4 separate regions of the Homo sapiens genome follow, and all the other regions are linked to region 1. The links are contacts of gene promoters, found by promoter capture Hi-C in human tissues and cell types (Jung and others, 2019). All regions are on one chromosome and are shown on one strand. The core of a region is centred on a gene start or on the middle of the fragment in contact, and the rest is flanking DNA. Distances in the headings are between cores, read along the strand shown. Region 1 holds the start of AP1G2 (adaptor related protein complex 1 subunit gamma 2). Region 2 holds the start of LOC105370411 (a long non-coding RNA gene). Region 3 has its middle 21 kb from the start of DHRS4L2. Region 4 overlaps LINC00596 (long intergenic non-protein coding RNA 596).

Region 1 (3,550 bases), core at 822-3,321:
AATCCAAAACAAATGTTGGCGATCCCCCTGCTCCAGGCTGTGCAGGGAGGTGCCTGAGACCCTTCAGCTCTGCCACCTCAGTCAGGGCAGGAAGGTGGGCCCTGTCCTCGGGGACTGAGTCTGCTTCCCCCTCTGTCTCTCTAGGGAGCTGCCAACCCCCTGGTGGTGGGAGCCGTGGCCCTCCTGGACCTCAGCCTGGCATTCCTGTTCTCCCAGCTCCTCACCTGAGGCTACTTCCTGGCCTGGTTCTGGCTTTGGTTGCGTGCCTCTTCACCCCTTTGACCTGCCTTTTTTCTCTTCTCCTCTTCCTGGCTGTGTTTTCTCCTATCTTTCTTTCTCTTCTTCCTTTCTTTTCTGTGCTCCTTTGTTTTTTTCTCTCGCTTTTTCTTTCCCTGTCTTCTTTCAGATTATCTCATTTCTTCTGGATCTGTCTCTGTATTCCTCACTCCCTTCCCCATCCCAACCCCTTCTTTCTCTAGATTGTTTACATATGAAGGGCTTTTCTCTCTCAGAGTTGCTGTCTTCTCTGAGACACACAAATCTAAGTCAGACCATTGCTCCACGCCCTCCCACCTTTTCTTTAGACCTCAACTTCGCTGCGGGTGGGGGTTTGGTGTCCTAAGGAGACTCCTGGAAGCTGAATGGAGAGGAGGAAGAAAATGAAGAAGGAGTGATTGAATGTCGGGCAAGGCACTGGCTGAGCTGCTGTGGCTCCCTAGCCTAAGGGGCCTGCTGTCCCTCTGAGGCCTAGTGAAAAAGCTGCAGGAGGTGCATCCTCCACCTCTAATCTTGGAGGCTATTATCTTACCTCCAAGCACTGAGCTGGGTTACTGCCCAATTCCATCCTTCCCTGAAGGAGAGAAGGGAAGTGAAAAGTAGAGTAACTCCCCAGCATTTCCCTCTTTTTCTCCTCATCGGCCAGCCCCTCCTCCAGCCCCCTCTGGTGGCATGCCATGCCAAGAGCAACGTGTAAAGGAACAGAGAATATCCAATGCAGTCAAGTCCACCCTGCCCAGACTTTGCCACTGACTTCTCCCACCCTTCTGTCTCCCCCATAATAGTTTATTTGGTTGGTCTGGACTCACTTGTGGCCTTTGATTAAATTCCTAAGGGGCCTGAAGAAGACATTTCTACTGCAGAGGGTTAGAGGCACTTGAGCAAGGCCCCCACATCCCAACTCTGGGAGTTGTGGTGGGAGGAGGCACTTCTGGGGGATAGGACCAGACAAGATAACAGGAGCTCACATGGAAGCAGAAGCTGTGACAAGTTTAGTAGTCCCAAAATGGGTTATATCCCTTCCCCCTTTACATCAGAATCTTGTGAAATGGGAAAACAACAGAAGGAGGGGATCAAAGATAGCTGATCTCACATGCTTCCCAGGCAGGGCAGAGGTGGGAGTCAAACCCGGGTGACAGGTGGGTGGAGAGCCCTGTTTGAGGTTGTGGCTGATCCCTCTCTGGTATTAGTTTTTCCCCTGGGAGCAGGAAGCCCTAGGAAGAGGGGACTGCAGGGTCCCCAGGGGATCTTTCCTCCCTCCCCTGCATGAGGCAGAGGCAAGCTGCCTGCCAACCCCCTCCCTCAAGGAATGGCCTTGCCCAGGAATGCCCACCACACATACCCTCTTCTTTTTTTCTAGTCAAACTCTTGTTTATTCCTTGGCTTGCCTCCCTCCTTCCTCCCCTCTCAACCTTTACTTCTGATTTCTATTTCATGGAATTTGGGATTGAAGTTAAACTACAACAGTGCCGCCAACACCAAGTCTTGCAGGAAAAAAATACAAAGAAATTTAACAAAAAAAATATATTAATAAAAAAGTTCAAAAAAGGGGGGGGATTGTCATCTCCTTTGGGGTGCGATGGCTTCAAATCCAAACTGAGGCTCTCCGGGTGGTAAGGATGTGCGAGGAGGCCTCTTGAAGAACTCCAGGCCTATCATGCTGTCTCTCCGCTAAAGCCTGAGGCCCGAGGTCAGAGGATTCAGGAAGGCTCTGCAGTCGGCCCAGGAGGGCGGGGTCCCGTGGTGGAGGCGGGGAGAGGGAAGGACCGCACGGAGCACCAACCCCTGCTCGGCCCCGTACCAGGAAGCGCTGGGGGGCAGAGGAGCGGAGTTGAGGCAGAAGCCAGGTGAGGCTGGAGTCCTGGGGTAGGCAGGCTGTCGCTGCCGCTGCCGCTGCCTGAGATGGAAATCGGGGGAGGAAGCTCGCGGAAGAAACAGCGGAGGGTCGTGGAAAAAAAAGCAATGGCTGAGCTAGGGATGGGGTACCAGGTAGGGGGAGGAAACGGTAGAGAGAAATAGGTGGGGCTCCCGCGCATGCTCAATAGGAAGGGGCGCCGGTGGGGTGCGGACGCATGCGTAGTGGGCTTCTCGGGCGGTGGGGTGGGCGCGGAATTTGGAGACCCACTTCGGGAAAGGTAAAATGCGGGCGCAATTTTAGGGTACCTGTGGGACCCGGGCTCTTAGGGTCTTGACACAGGACGGGCCTGGGCCGAAAGCCCAGGCACGCCCGACCAGAGAGTGTTTCTCCACTCCCGGACTCTGCCAGTCAGGATGGTGGTGCCTTCGCTGAAGCTTCAGGACCTCATCGAAGAGATTCGCGGGGCCAAGACTCAGGCCCAGGAGCGGGAGGTGATCCAAAAGGAGTGTGCCCACATCCGGGCCTCCTTCCGCGACGGGGACCCAGTGCACAGGCACCGGCAGCTGGCCAAACTGCTCTACGTCCACATGTTGGGCTACCCCGCCCACTTTGGACAGGTACTGGCCAGGAATACCTCCCTCCTGAGCTTGATGAAGGCTAGTGGGGCAGAGTCCCAGACTCTCTCACCTGTTTATGCCCTGGTTTTTTAAATTCTACAATTTCAGAGTCTTCACAGCCTGCACTGCAAACCTCTTTCCCCATTGCTACCCCTACTGGTCATCAGCTGGCCTGAACCCTTCATTCTCTGGCCAGCCTCCTTTAGGGCAGGCATCTCCTCCTCTCCGCTCCCATCCTCCTCAACTCCTAGTTCCTCCTACCCACTAACGCCTGAATTTCCTAAGCTTCTCCTCTTGTTGAAGGGAGAGTGATGAGATATGATGCCCCACAGGTTAATCTGGTTTTAAAGAGGAAGATGGAACAGGGATGTGAGTGTCTATGGTTTCACCCCTGCCTCTTCCTGGTCTGCCCCCTTCACTATAGATGGAGTGCCTGAAACTGATCGCCTCCTCCAGATTCACAGACAAGAGGGTGGGCTACCTGGGGGCCATGCTTCTATTGGATGAGAGGCACGATGCCCACCTGCTCATTACCAACAGCATCAAGAAGTGAGAGGGTTCTGGCAATCACTTGGAATCAGGGAGATGGGAGAGTAGGGACCTTGGAAATCCCAGGGGACTGCCTGTTGTGGGTATTGAAAAGGACTGATTTTCTCAGAGGTTTGACTGACCGTCCTCCCAAACCCTGCAGTGACCTGAGCCAGGGGATTCAGCCAGTACAAGGCCTGGCCTTGTGCACTTTGAGCACCATGGGCTCTGCTGAGATGTGCCGAGACCTGGCCCCAGAGGTGGAGAAACT
Region 2 (3,157 bases), core at 620-3,119, 360 kb before region 1:
TGATGGGAGACAGTGACAGATCATCAGGCATTAGATTCTCATAAGGAGTGTGAAACCTAGATCCTTTGCATATGAAGTTCACAATAGGGTTCATGCACCTATGAGAATCTAATGCCTCTGCTGATCTGATAGGAGGTAGGGCTCAGGCGGTAATGCGAGTGATGGGGAGTGGCTGTAAATACAGATGAAGCTTCCCTTGGTCGCCCACCACTCACCTCCTGCTGTGCAGCCTGGTTCCTAACAGGTCATGGACTTGTCTGGTCTGTAGCCCAGGGATTGGGGACCCCTGATCTAAATAGCAAAGCTGAATAAAGTATGCCTATCCCATCTGATATAAATTGAGAGTTGTTAGGATTTGGCATGGCGCATCAGGGTGTTGAGTAATCTGGTGTTCATCAGTATTGACAGGTAGAGAAGATAAGGATGTTTTGAGCTCATCAAGACAGGAGCAGACACCTGTTGGGACAAGAGAGCACAGCAGCAGGCTGGTTCTCCCATCCTCGTACCCTATCATATGATGCTGGTCAGGAGGAGACTGGGGAAATATTGTGATATTATAGGTTAAATCTTTGGGAAAGCATTTTTTGAGTCAGGCTTGGTCTGGACATTGTCTGACTCCCGTGGCTTGGAGGTTGCCAGGGCGATGACACATTCCTTCAAGATTTTGGTTTCTTTCCTGGCCAGATCTAGCAGAGCCAAGTTTTCTTGGGTGCCTGCAGGCTGTCAGAAGAACTCCATCCTTGCTTCTCTGTCACTACTGTGCACTGAATCCTGCCTGAAATCCTCCACTTCCGCCTTTGGCTAGGAACCCTTCCTTTCTTCCCTGCTGGACCCAGGGAGGAGGAGAGGCAACATCACAACTTTCTGTGCTTCCATCATAGCTGTGGGACTGTCTCTGTGTAAAGTCCTGCTGGCCTAGAGTTTCTAGCTTCTAGTGTCACCTGTGGAACTACAAAATTTATCCTTATTCCAGGTTAAGTTCCTCTGCTATGCATTCTCATGTACTTCCTTTTTGAAATAATTATTAACTGAATGAGTGCTTATTTAATATTTATTTTCCTGAGCTAGACTATGAGCTCCATAAGATCTGGAACGAAGTCTGTCTTGGTCACTGCCATATTCCTATTGCCAAGCACAACAAAATCATTGTAGGCATTTCAAAGAGGGAATTTAAAACAGGAAATTGGTTACACGTTGGACTGGGCTGAGAAGCCAAATGGGCTGGTGAAACAACCACATATTAGTGGCAGCGGAAGCTGCTACCATCCTGAGGGCTGGAAGGACACAAGAAAGGAGTGGGGAACAACTTCATTCTGATTAACTTCATTCTGAATTATATGGAATTAAAAAATTTTTCTTCTGGTAGGAGTGCCCACAATACTAGTAAAAATGTAGGCCATTTAACATTACCCTATTTGAAATCCACCATAGCCTTCTTGAGTTTCAAATCTGAAATCTGCAGGGATAATGTTTCTCAAAATGACAAAAGCACCATTTCTGAGGCAAAGATCCAGCCTGTCCTGGGCAGGTTGGCCCTTGGTTAGGATTTCAGGTCACGCTTGCAGATAGATCCATCACGCTTCCATCTCAGATGGGCTGTGACCTTTTGGATGCAGAGAAGGCTGTAATGCCACTTTTGTCCACCAGAGGGCTGCAGGGTCTCCCCTCACAGTCCAAACGGCTGAGATTTGGTGACTCAACCATGCCTTGGCAGGGTGCTGCCTTGAGGGGTCTCCTCTTAAGTACCTCATGTGTTGGAGGAGATCTGGGGGTGCAGAGGCTGCCCTGATTCCAGAAGGGAGGAATTTTGTATTCGGTTCCCTCATTTTCTCTCTCCCGGCTTCATTTTATGTTTCATAACAATTGATTTGAACAATTTAAAAATCGGGAAATCAAAGTGGGGGTGTGTGTGTGTGCATTTTGTGGGCAGGGTAGCAAGAAGTGGGAATAATTCTGGTTACATTAATTCATGCCTGAACTCGCAGCTTAAACATTATTTAATGTTGTAGAAATTCAGAGATGGAAAAGTGACCTTGGAAATAATTTAGCATCCCTTCATTTATAGCCAAAGAAATGAATGCGGCCCTTGCCGCTTGCGAGATGCCTGGAAGGTTCAGAGCCTTTAGGAATGCAGCTAATATGTAAGGTTATTAAAGCGTTTTTGGTAAGATTTTATTTCAGTATTCCAATCTTTCTTCCCTTTTCTTAGACTCAGCCTGAGCCTTAACAGCAGCAACAAAGCACAAAAAGGCATTTTTCAGTTTTCCATTGAAAGTACTTGGCTTTCTTGTTCTAATCCCATAATTAGACTTTGGATTCTTTCCAGACTCCATTGAATCAGAAGATAGAAAGGCCTGACATGGTAGAAAAAAATTATCCGGGAAAATATTGGAGTGAGTAGAAAACCAGTCAAACTCCTAATTGCAAATTCTCTTAAAATTAATTGAAAAATGTTACTAAAGAATTTTCAGCAGTACAGCAAAGACCAGTCACTGAAGTAACTTAAGGGAGAATGCACTAAACTGAAAAAAAATCAATGTGGGTTTTCTAAAAAAGTTTCAAAAAACACCCAATGAGCCCACACAAAAAACTTTATTTTAATTAATCCCAAAGAAAGAAACAACCACAGGGAACCATACACAGAATTCAGAAAATGGCTGGAGCCTCTTTTCAAAGAAATCAAGTGGACATTACATCCTCCCTAGTGAAAGTCAGAATAAAAAAGAATGAAAGTAATGATTATTGCAAAAGACACATTGAAAATCATGTTTAAACTGCACAAAGCAGAAATGGCACTTAAATCAGTAAAGAAACCTGAGCAATAGATCCAGAATTTAAAGAAACTAAATTAAGAAATGAAACACTTCAGGAGGGCAGATCTGGGGAATAGATCTGAGTATTGCAATTTCTGAATAGTTAGACTTCCTGAGTAAGCCAAAGAAAGAAAAGGTCCTAAATCAATAACTAAAGATGCAGGAATACTTTATTCCAGAATCAATAAGAGATTAGACTTGAAATAGAGAAGAGTTACATGGTCTAACAGAATAGTTACGAACATTTAGGAAACAGTTCTCACACTTATACATCTTTTCATTTGATTTTTACAACAATGTGAGGTAGACAGATATTATTAATCTCCCATCTTACAGATAGAAAT
Region 3 (3,516 bases), core at 719-3,218, 440 kb before region 1:
CACATTTCTGCAGACAGAGGTTGCAAACGCAGGCCTGACAATAGCATCTGATAACATTCAGACCTCCACTCCTTTTCATTATTTGGGAAAGACCAACAGAGAAAAAAGAGAAACTGGGAAAGAAAGGAAGAGAGAAAGTGAGAAGAGAAATCAGAAAGAGAAAGGAGAGAAAACGGCAGATGTGGAGAGCCAGGGAGAAAAAGAAAAAGAAAAAGAGACTGAGTGTGAAGGAGAGAGGACACGGGATGACAGACAGAGAGAGAGAGAGAGAGAGAGAAAGAGAGGGAGAAAATGAGTAAGAGAGAGACTGGAAAAGACAGAGATCAGAGAAAGACACAGAAGGTGAGACTGGGGAAAAAAATAATGTAAAAGAGAAAGACAGAGATCAGAGAGAGACACAGAAAGTGAGACTGGGAAAAGAAATAGTGTAAAAGGAAGAAAAAGAGAAAAAGAGAGAGAGACCATAAGAGAAGGGAGACAATGAAACAAAAAGTGCGAGTGAGCAGGTGAGGAGAAAGATTGAAAACTATGAGAAACAACAACTAAGAGACAAAGGAGAAGGGAGACTGCCTGGGTGCCGGAGCACCCACACTGTCCTCTTGCCCCCATCACTTGGGTTAAAACCATTGGAAATTCCACTATTGCAAATTTTGTATTAATCCTTGTATGTCTGCCCTCTCTATTGTTAGTCTACAGGTGTATCCAGCAGTTCCAGAAAGACAGTGACCAGCAAAAACAGGCCATGGTGACAATGACAGTTTTGTCAAAAAGAAAAGGGGGATATGTAGGGAAAAGAAAGAGAGATCAGACTGTTACCGTGTCTATGTAGAAAGGGAAGACATAAGAGACTACATTTTGAAAAAGACCTGTACTTTAAATAATTGCTTTTCTGAGATGTTGTTAATTTTTAGCTTTGCCCCAGCCACTTTGACCCAACCACTTTGACCCAACCTGGAGCTCACAAGAACATGTGTTGTATGAAATCAAGGTTTAAGGGATCTAGGACTGTGTAGGACGTGCCTTGTTAACAAAATGTTTACAAGCAGTATACTTGGTAAAAGTCATCGCCATTCTCTAGTCTCAATAAACCAGGGGCACAGTGCACTGCAGAAAGCCGCAGGGACCTCTGCCCTTGAAAGCAGGGTATTGTCCAAGGTTTCTCCCCATGTGATAGTCTGAAATATGGCCTCCTGGGATGAGAAAGACCTGACTGTCCCCCAGCCCGACACCCATAAAGGGTCTGTGCTGCGGTGGGTTAGTAAAAAAGGAAGGCCTCTTGCAGTTGAGATAGAGGAAGGCCACTGTCTCCTGCCTGCTCCTGGGAACTAAAAGTCTCGGTATAAATCCCGATTGTACATTTGTTCAGTTCTGAGATGAGAGAAAAACCGCCCTATGGTGGGAGGCGAGACATGTTTGCAGCAATGCTGCCTCGTTATTCTTTACTCCACCGAGATGTTTGGGTGGAGAGAAACATAAATCTGGCTTACGTGCATGTCCAGTCATAGTACCTTCCCTTGAACTGAATTATTAGATTCTATTGCTCACGTTTGTTGCTGACCTTCTCCTTATTATCACCCTGCCCTCCTACTACATTCCTTTTTACTGAAATAATGACGATAATAATCAATAAAAACTGAGGGAACTCAGAGACCGGTGCCGGTGCAAGTCCTTGGTATGCTGAGCGCCGGTCCCCTGGGCTCACTGTTGTTTCTCTATACTTTGTCTCTGTGTCTTATTTCTCTTTCTCAGTCTCTCGTCCCACCTGACTAGAAATACCCACAGGTGTGGAGGGGCAAGCCACCCCTTCAAACAGTAGCAACCTGCTTGGGTCCCCTTCCACACTGTGGAAGCTTTGTTCTTTCGCTCTTTGCAATAAATCTTGCTGCCCCTCACTCTTTGGGTCCACACGGCCTTTATGAGCTGTAACACTCATCGTGAAGGTCTGCAGCTTCACTCCTGAGGCCAGTGAGGCCACGAACCCAGTGGGAGGAATGAACAACTCCGGATGGGAGGAACGAACAACTCCAGACATGCCGCCTTAAGAGCTGTAACACTCACTGTGAAGGTCCGCAGCTTCACTCCTGAAGCCAGCGAGACCACGAACCCACCAGAAGGAAAAAACTCTGAACGTGTCTGAACATCAGAAGGAACAAACTCCGGACACGCTGCCTTTAAGGACTGTAACACTCACTGCGAGGGTCCGTGGCTTCATTCTTGAAGTCAGTGAGACCAAGAACCCACCAATTCCAGACACACCTTCATTTTGAGCCTATGTGTGTCTTTGCACGTGAGATTGGGTCTCCTGAATACAGCACACCATATGGGTCTTGATTCTTTATCCAATTTGCCAGTCAGTGTCTTTTAATTGGGGCATTTATCCCATTTACATTGAAGGTTAGTATTGTTATATGTGAATTTGATCCTGTCATGACGTTAGCTGGTTATTTTGCCCATTAATTGATGCAGTTTCTTCATAGCATCAATGGTCTTTACAATTTCGTATGTTTTTGCAGTGGCTGGTACTGGTTGTTCCTTTCCATGTTTAGTGCTTCCTTCAGGAGCTCTTATTGTAAGGCAGGCCTGGTGGTGACAAACTCTCTCAGCATCTGCTTGTCTGTAAAGGATTTTATTTCTCCTTCACTTACGAAGCTTAGTTTGGCTGGATATGAAATTCTAGTTCCAAAAATCTTTTCTTTCAGAATGTTGAATATTGGTCCCGACTCTCTTCTGGTTTGTATGGTTTCTGCTGAGAGATCTGCTGTTAGTCTGATGGGCTTCCCTTTGTTGGTAACCCAACCTTTCTCTCTGGCTGCCCTTAACCTTGCTGAATCTGACAATTATGTGTCTTGGGGTTGCTCTTCTCAAGGAGTGTCTTTGTGATGTTCTCTGTATTTCCTGAATTTGAATGTTTCTTTTTTCTTTTCTTGTCTCTAATCTTGTGTTCTCACTTTATTTCATTAATTTTATATTCAATCACTGATATCCTTTCTTCCACTTGATTGAATCAGCTATTGAAGCTTGTGTATCCTTCATGAAGTTCTTGTACTGTGGTTATCAGCTCCATCAGGTCATTTAAGCTCTTCTCTAGATTCTTCATTCTAGTTAGCCATTCGTTTAACATTTTGTCAAGGTTTTTAGCTTCCTTGCAATGGGTTAGAACATGCTCCTTTAGCTGGGTGTAGTTTGTTATTACTGACCTTCTGAAGCTTACGTCTGTCAAGTCATCAAACTTATTCTCCATCCAGTTTTGTTCCCTTGCTGGTGAGGACTTGTATTCCTTTGGAAGAGAAGAGACGTTCTGATTTCTGGAAGTTTCAGCCTTTTTGCTCTGGTTTCTCTCCATCTTTGTGGTTTTATCTACCTTTGGTCTTTGATGTTGGTGACCTATGGATGGGGTTTTAGTGTGGATGTCCTTTCCTGTTCTGATGTTGATGCTGTCCTTTGCTGATGTTGATGCTATTCCTTTCTGTTTGTTAGTTTTCCTTCTAACAGGCCCCTCAGCTGCAGGTCTTTGGG
Region 4 (3,121 bases), core at 55-2,554, 320 kb before region 1:
TGTTCACTACTGTCAGGGAGTCAGTTGTTTATCAGGGAAGGTTAGGGAGGAAAATCCAGGGGGATATACTGACATCGGCAGCCTACCCTCCCTCCTTTTGTGCAATGCAGTGCTTGCCATTTATCAATACCCTCTTTTATCTTACATTAAATATTGAGAACGGATGCAACCAAATGACCACAGTTCTGCATCTCACTGCCGCACAGGACAGAAAGCTTTCTAAAAAAATTGCCAACGTGGCTGCTCTGTCACTGCCCTTCACTGGAAAACCTCAGTATCACCCAAACTGCAAAGTTCAACAGCTGATTTTTTTCAATCATTTTTTCTTCTCTTATTTTCAAATATTTAATTGACAATTTAGATTGTGTATCTCACATTCGAAGTGTACAATGTGACGATTTTATATATAAATGCATTGTGTAATAATTATCAAAATCAAATTAACACATCTGTCACCACCCATGCTGTATTTTAACTCTCCAGAACTTGTTTATCTTATGACTGAAGGTTTGTCCTCTTCGATCAACATCTCCCTATGTCTCCTTAACCCCCATCGCTGGCAACCATTATTCTACTCTCTGTTTCTATAAGTTCAACTCTTTTAGACTCCACATATAAGTGAGATCATACAGTATATGTCTTTCTGTATCATTTATTTCATTAAACATGTTGTCCTTCAGGTTGATTCATGTTGTCACAAATGGTAGTGTTTCCTTTTTTAATGGCTGAATATTTGTCATACACACACACTCACATATATATAAACACACACCACAATTTCTTTATGCATTTATCCATCGATTGACACTTAGTAGTTTCCAAGTCTTGGCTATTGTGAGTAATGCTGAAATGAACATGGGAGGGCGGGTATTTCATCGAGCTACTGATTTCGTTTCCATTGCATATATACTCAGAAGTGAGATTGCTAGATCATATGGTTATTCTAGCTTTAATTTTTGAGGAAACTCCATACTGTTTTCCATAATGGCCATATCAATTTACATTTCCACTAATAGTGTACCTGTTTCTCTCCATCCTTACTAACATATATCTTTTGTCTATTTTGATAACAGTCATCCTGACATGAGAGGTGACATCTCATTGTGGTTTTTATTTACATTTCCTTGGTGATTAGAGATGTTGAGCACCTGTTCATGTAGCTGTTAGCCACTTGTATGCATTATTTGGAGAAATATCTATTCAGGTTCTTTGCCCATTTTAAAATTGGATTATAAGTTTTTGTTATTAGGTTGTATGACTTCTTTGTATATTTTAGATATTAATCCCTTATCAGATATATGGCTTACAAACATTTTCACCCATTCGGTAAGTTGCCTTTTTGTTTTATTGTTCTTTTTTTTGTGCAGAAACTTTTTAGCTTGATGTAGTTACTTATTTATTTTGCTTTGGTTACTTTTGCTTTTGGTGTCATATCCAAAAAGTAATTGCAATGACTAATGCCAAGCAACTTTTTTTTCTATTTTTTTCTAGAATTGTTATGGTTTCAGATCTTACATTTAAAAGTCTTTAATTCAAATCAAGTTAATTTTTGTGAGTGGTGTAAGATAAAGGCCCAATTTTATTCTTTTGCATGTGGACATTCAGTTTTCCCAGCACCATTTATTGAAGAGATGATCCTTTCCCCATTGTGTGTTCTTAGTACCTTTGTCAAATATTAACTGATTGTATATGTGTGGGTTTATTTCTGGGGTCTTGATTCTGTTCTATTGATCTATTTATCTGTTTTTATGTCAGTACCATACTGTTTTGATTACAATGCTTTTGTAATATACTTTGAAATCAGGAAATGTGATGCCTATAGCTTTGCTCTTCTTTCTCAAGATTACTGTAGCTATTTGGGGTCTTTTGTAGTTCCATACGAATTTTAAAATTGTCCTTTCTATTTCTGTGAAGAATGCAATTGGAATTTTGACAGGAATTTGATTGAATTTGTAGATTGCTTTGGGTAGCGTGAATATTTTCACAATACTAATTTTTCCAATCCATGAACATGGAATATCTTTCCATTTATTTGTATATTCTTCAATTTCTTTCATCAGTATCTTATAGTTTCCAGTGTACAAGTCTTTCACCTCCTTGGTTAAATTTATTCCTAGGTATTTTATTGTTTTCGATGCTATTATAAATGGAATTATTTTCTTTATTTCTTTTTCAGATATTTCATTGTTAGTGTATAGAAATGCAACTAATTTTTTTGGTGTTGATTCTGTAGCTGCAATTTTACTGAATTTGTTGATTAGTCTTAATAGTTTATTGGTGGAGTCTTTAGAGTTTTCTTATATAAAATCATGTCATCTTCAAACAGAGACAATTTTACTTCTTCCTTTCCTATTTTGATTCCTTCCTTCCTTCCTTCATTTCCTCCTCCTCCTCCCTTTCCTCCTCCTCCTCTTCCTTTTCTTTCTTTCTTCCTTTCTATCTCCTTCCTTCCTTCCTTCCTTCCTTCCTTCCTTCCTTCCTTCCTTCTTCATTGCTTGGCTAGGACTTACAGTACTACGTTGAATGGAAATGATGAGAGTGGGCATCTTTGTCTTATTCCTAATCTTAGCAGAAAAGCTTTTGACTTTTCACTGTTGAGTATGATACTAGCTGTGGGCTTGTCATATATGGCCTTTGGTATGTTGAGGCACATTCCCTCTATACCTAATTTGTTAATAGTTTTTACCATGAAAGGATGTTGTGTTTCATCAAATGCATTTTTTTTGCATTTATTGATGTGATCATATGATTTTTAGTTTTCATTCTATTAACATAGTGTATCACATTTGTTGATTGTATGTGTTGAACCATTCTCACATCCCAAGGATAAATCCTTCTTGATCATGGTAAATGATCATTTTAGTAGGCTGTTCAATGTGGTTTGCTAGCATTTTGTTGAGTATTTTTACATCTATGTTCATCAGGGATATGGGTCTGAAATTTTATTTTCTTACAGTGTTTTTATCTGGCTTTGGTGTCAGAGTATTGCTGGTCTTATAAAATGAGTTTGGAAGAGTTTTTTCCTCTTCAATTTTTTGGACAATTTTGAGTAGGATTGGCATTAATTCTTCTTTTAATGTTTGGTAGAATTCACCTGTGACACTAGCTGGTCCTGGAATTC

The links. The method cuts DNA at HindIII sites, captures the fragments that hold promoters and counts their contacts. A contact is called where the count stands out against the background at its distance.
Region 2: a contact is called between a fragment that was not itself captured here and the fragment with the promoter of AP1G2 in region 1, in 1 of the 25 tissues and cell types used here (stomach).
Region 3: a fragment that was not itself captured here is called in contact with the fragment with the promoter of AP1G2 in region 1 in 3 of the 25 tissues and cell types used here (dorsolateral prefrontal cortex, lymphoblastoid cells and spleen).
Region 4: a fragment that was not itself captured here is called in contact with the fragment with the promoter of AP1G2 in region 1 in 1 of the 25 tissues and cell types used here (lymphoblastoid cells).

The regions. Positions count from the first base shown.
Region 1 is chr14:23,566,312-23,569,861 of GRCh38, reverse strand. It overlaps AP1G2 (adaptor related protein complex 1 subunit gamma 2), which reads left to right and starts at 2,071. Exons shown (of 22, transcript NM_003917.5): 1 at 2,071-2,123; 2 at 2,543-2,751; 3 at 3,176-3,300; 4 at 3,443-3,550. The coding sequence starts at 2,548. JPH4 (junctophilin 4) reads left to right here. Exons shown (of 6, transcript NM_001146028.2): 6 at 145-1,824. The coding sequence ends at 228. It overlaps AP1G2-AS1 (AP1G2 antisense RNA 1), which reads right to left. Exons shown (of 4, transcript NR_110555.1): 3 at 2,440-3,550; 4 at 1,786-2,173. RefSeq lists silencers at 880-979, 1,969-2,018 and enhancers at 2,499-2,738, 2,769-2,858. The HindIII fragment of the contact is 7,450 bases long and covers 1-2,802 here.
Region 2 is chr14:23,928,442-23,931,598 of GRCh38, reverse strand. It overlaps LOC105370411 (a long non-coding RNA gene), which reads left to right and starts at 1,585. Exons shown (of 2, transcript XR_943618.2): 1 at 1,585-2,393. It also overlaps a transcript of LINC00596 not described here. The HindIII fragment of the contact is 9,325 bases long and covers 1-3,157 here.
Region 3 is chr14:24,007,988-24,011,503 of GRCh38, reverse strand. It overlaps the pseudogene DHRS4L1. Among named protein-coding and RNA genes, the nearest start is that of DHRS4L2, 21 kb to the right of the region's middle. The HindIII fragment of the contact is 5,422 bases long and covers 1-3,516 here.
Region 4 is chr14:23,887,002-23,890,122 of GRCh38, reverse strand. All of the region lies in intron 2 of LINC00596 (long intergenic non-protein coding RNA 596), which reads left to right. Among named protein-coding and RNA genes, the nearest start is that of LINC00596, 14 kb to the left of the region's middle. The HindIII fragment of the contact is 5,012 bases long and covers 1-3,121 here.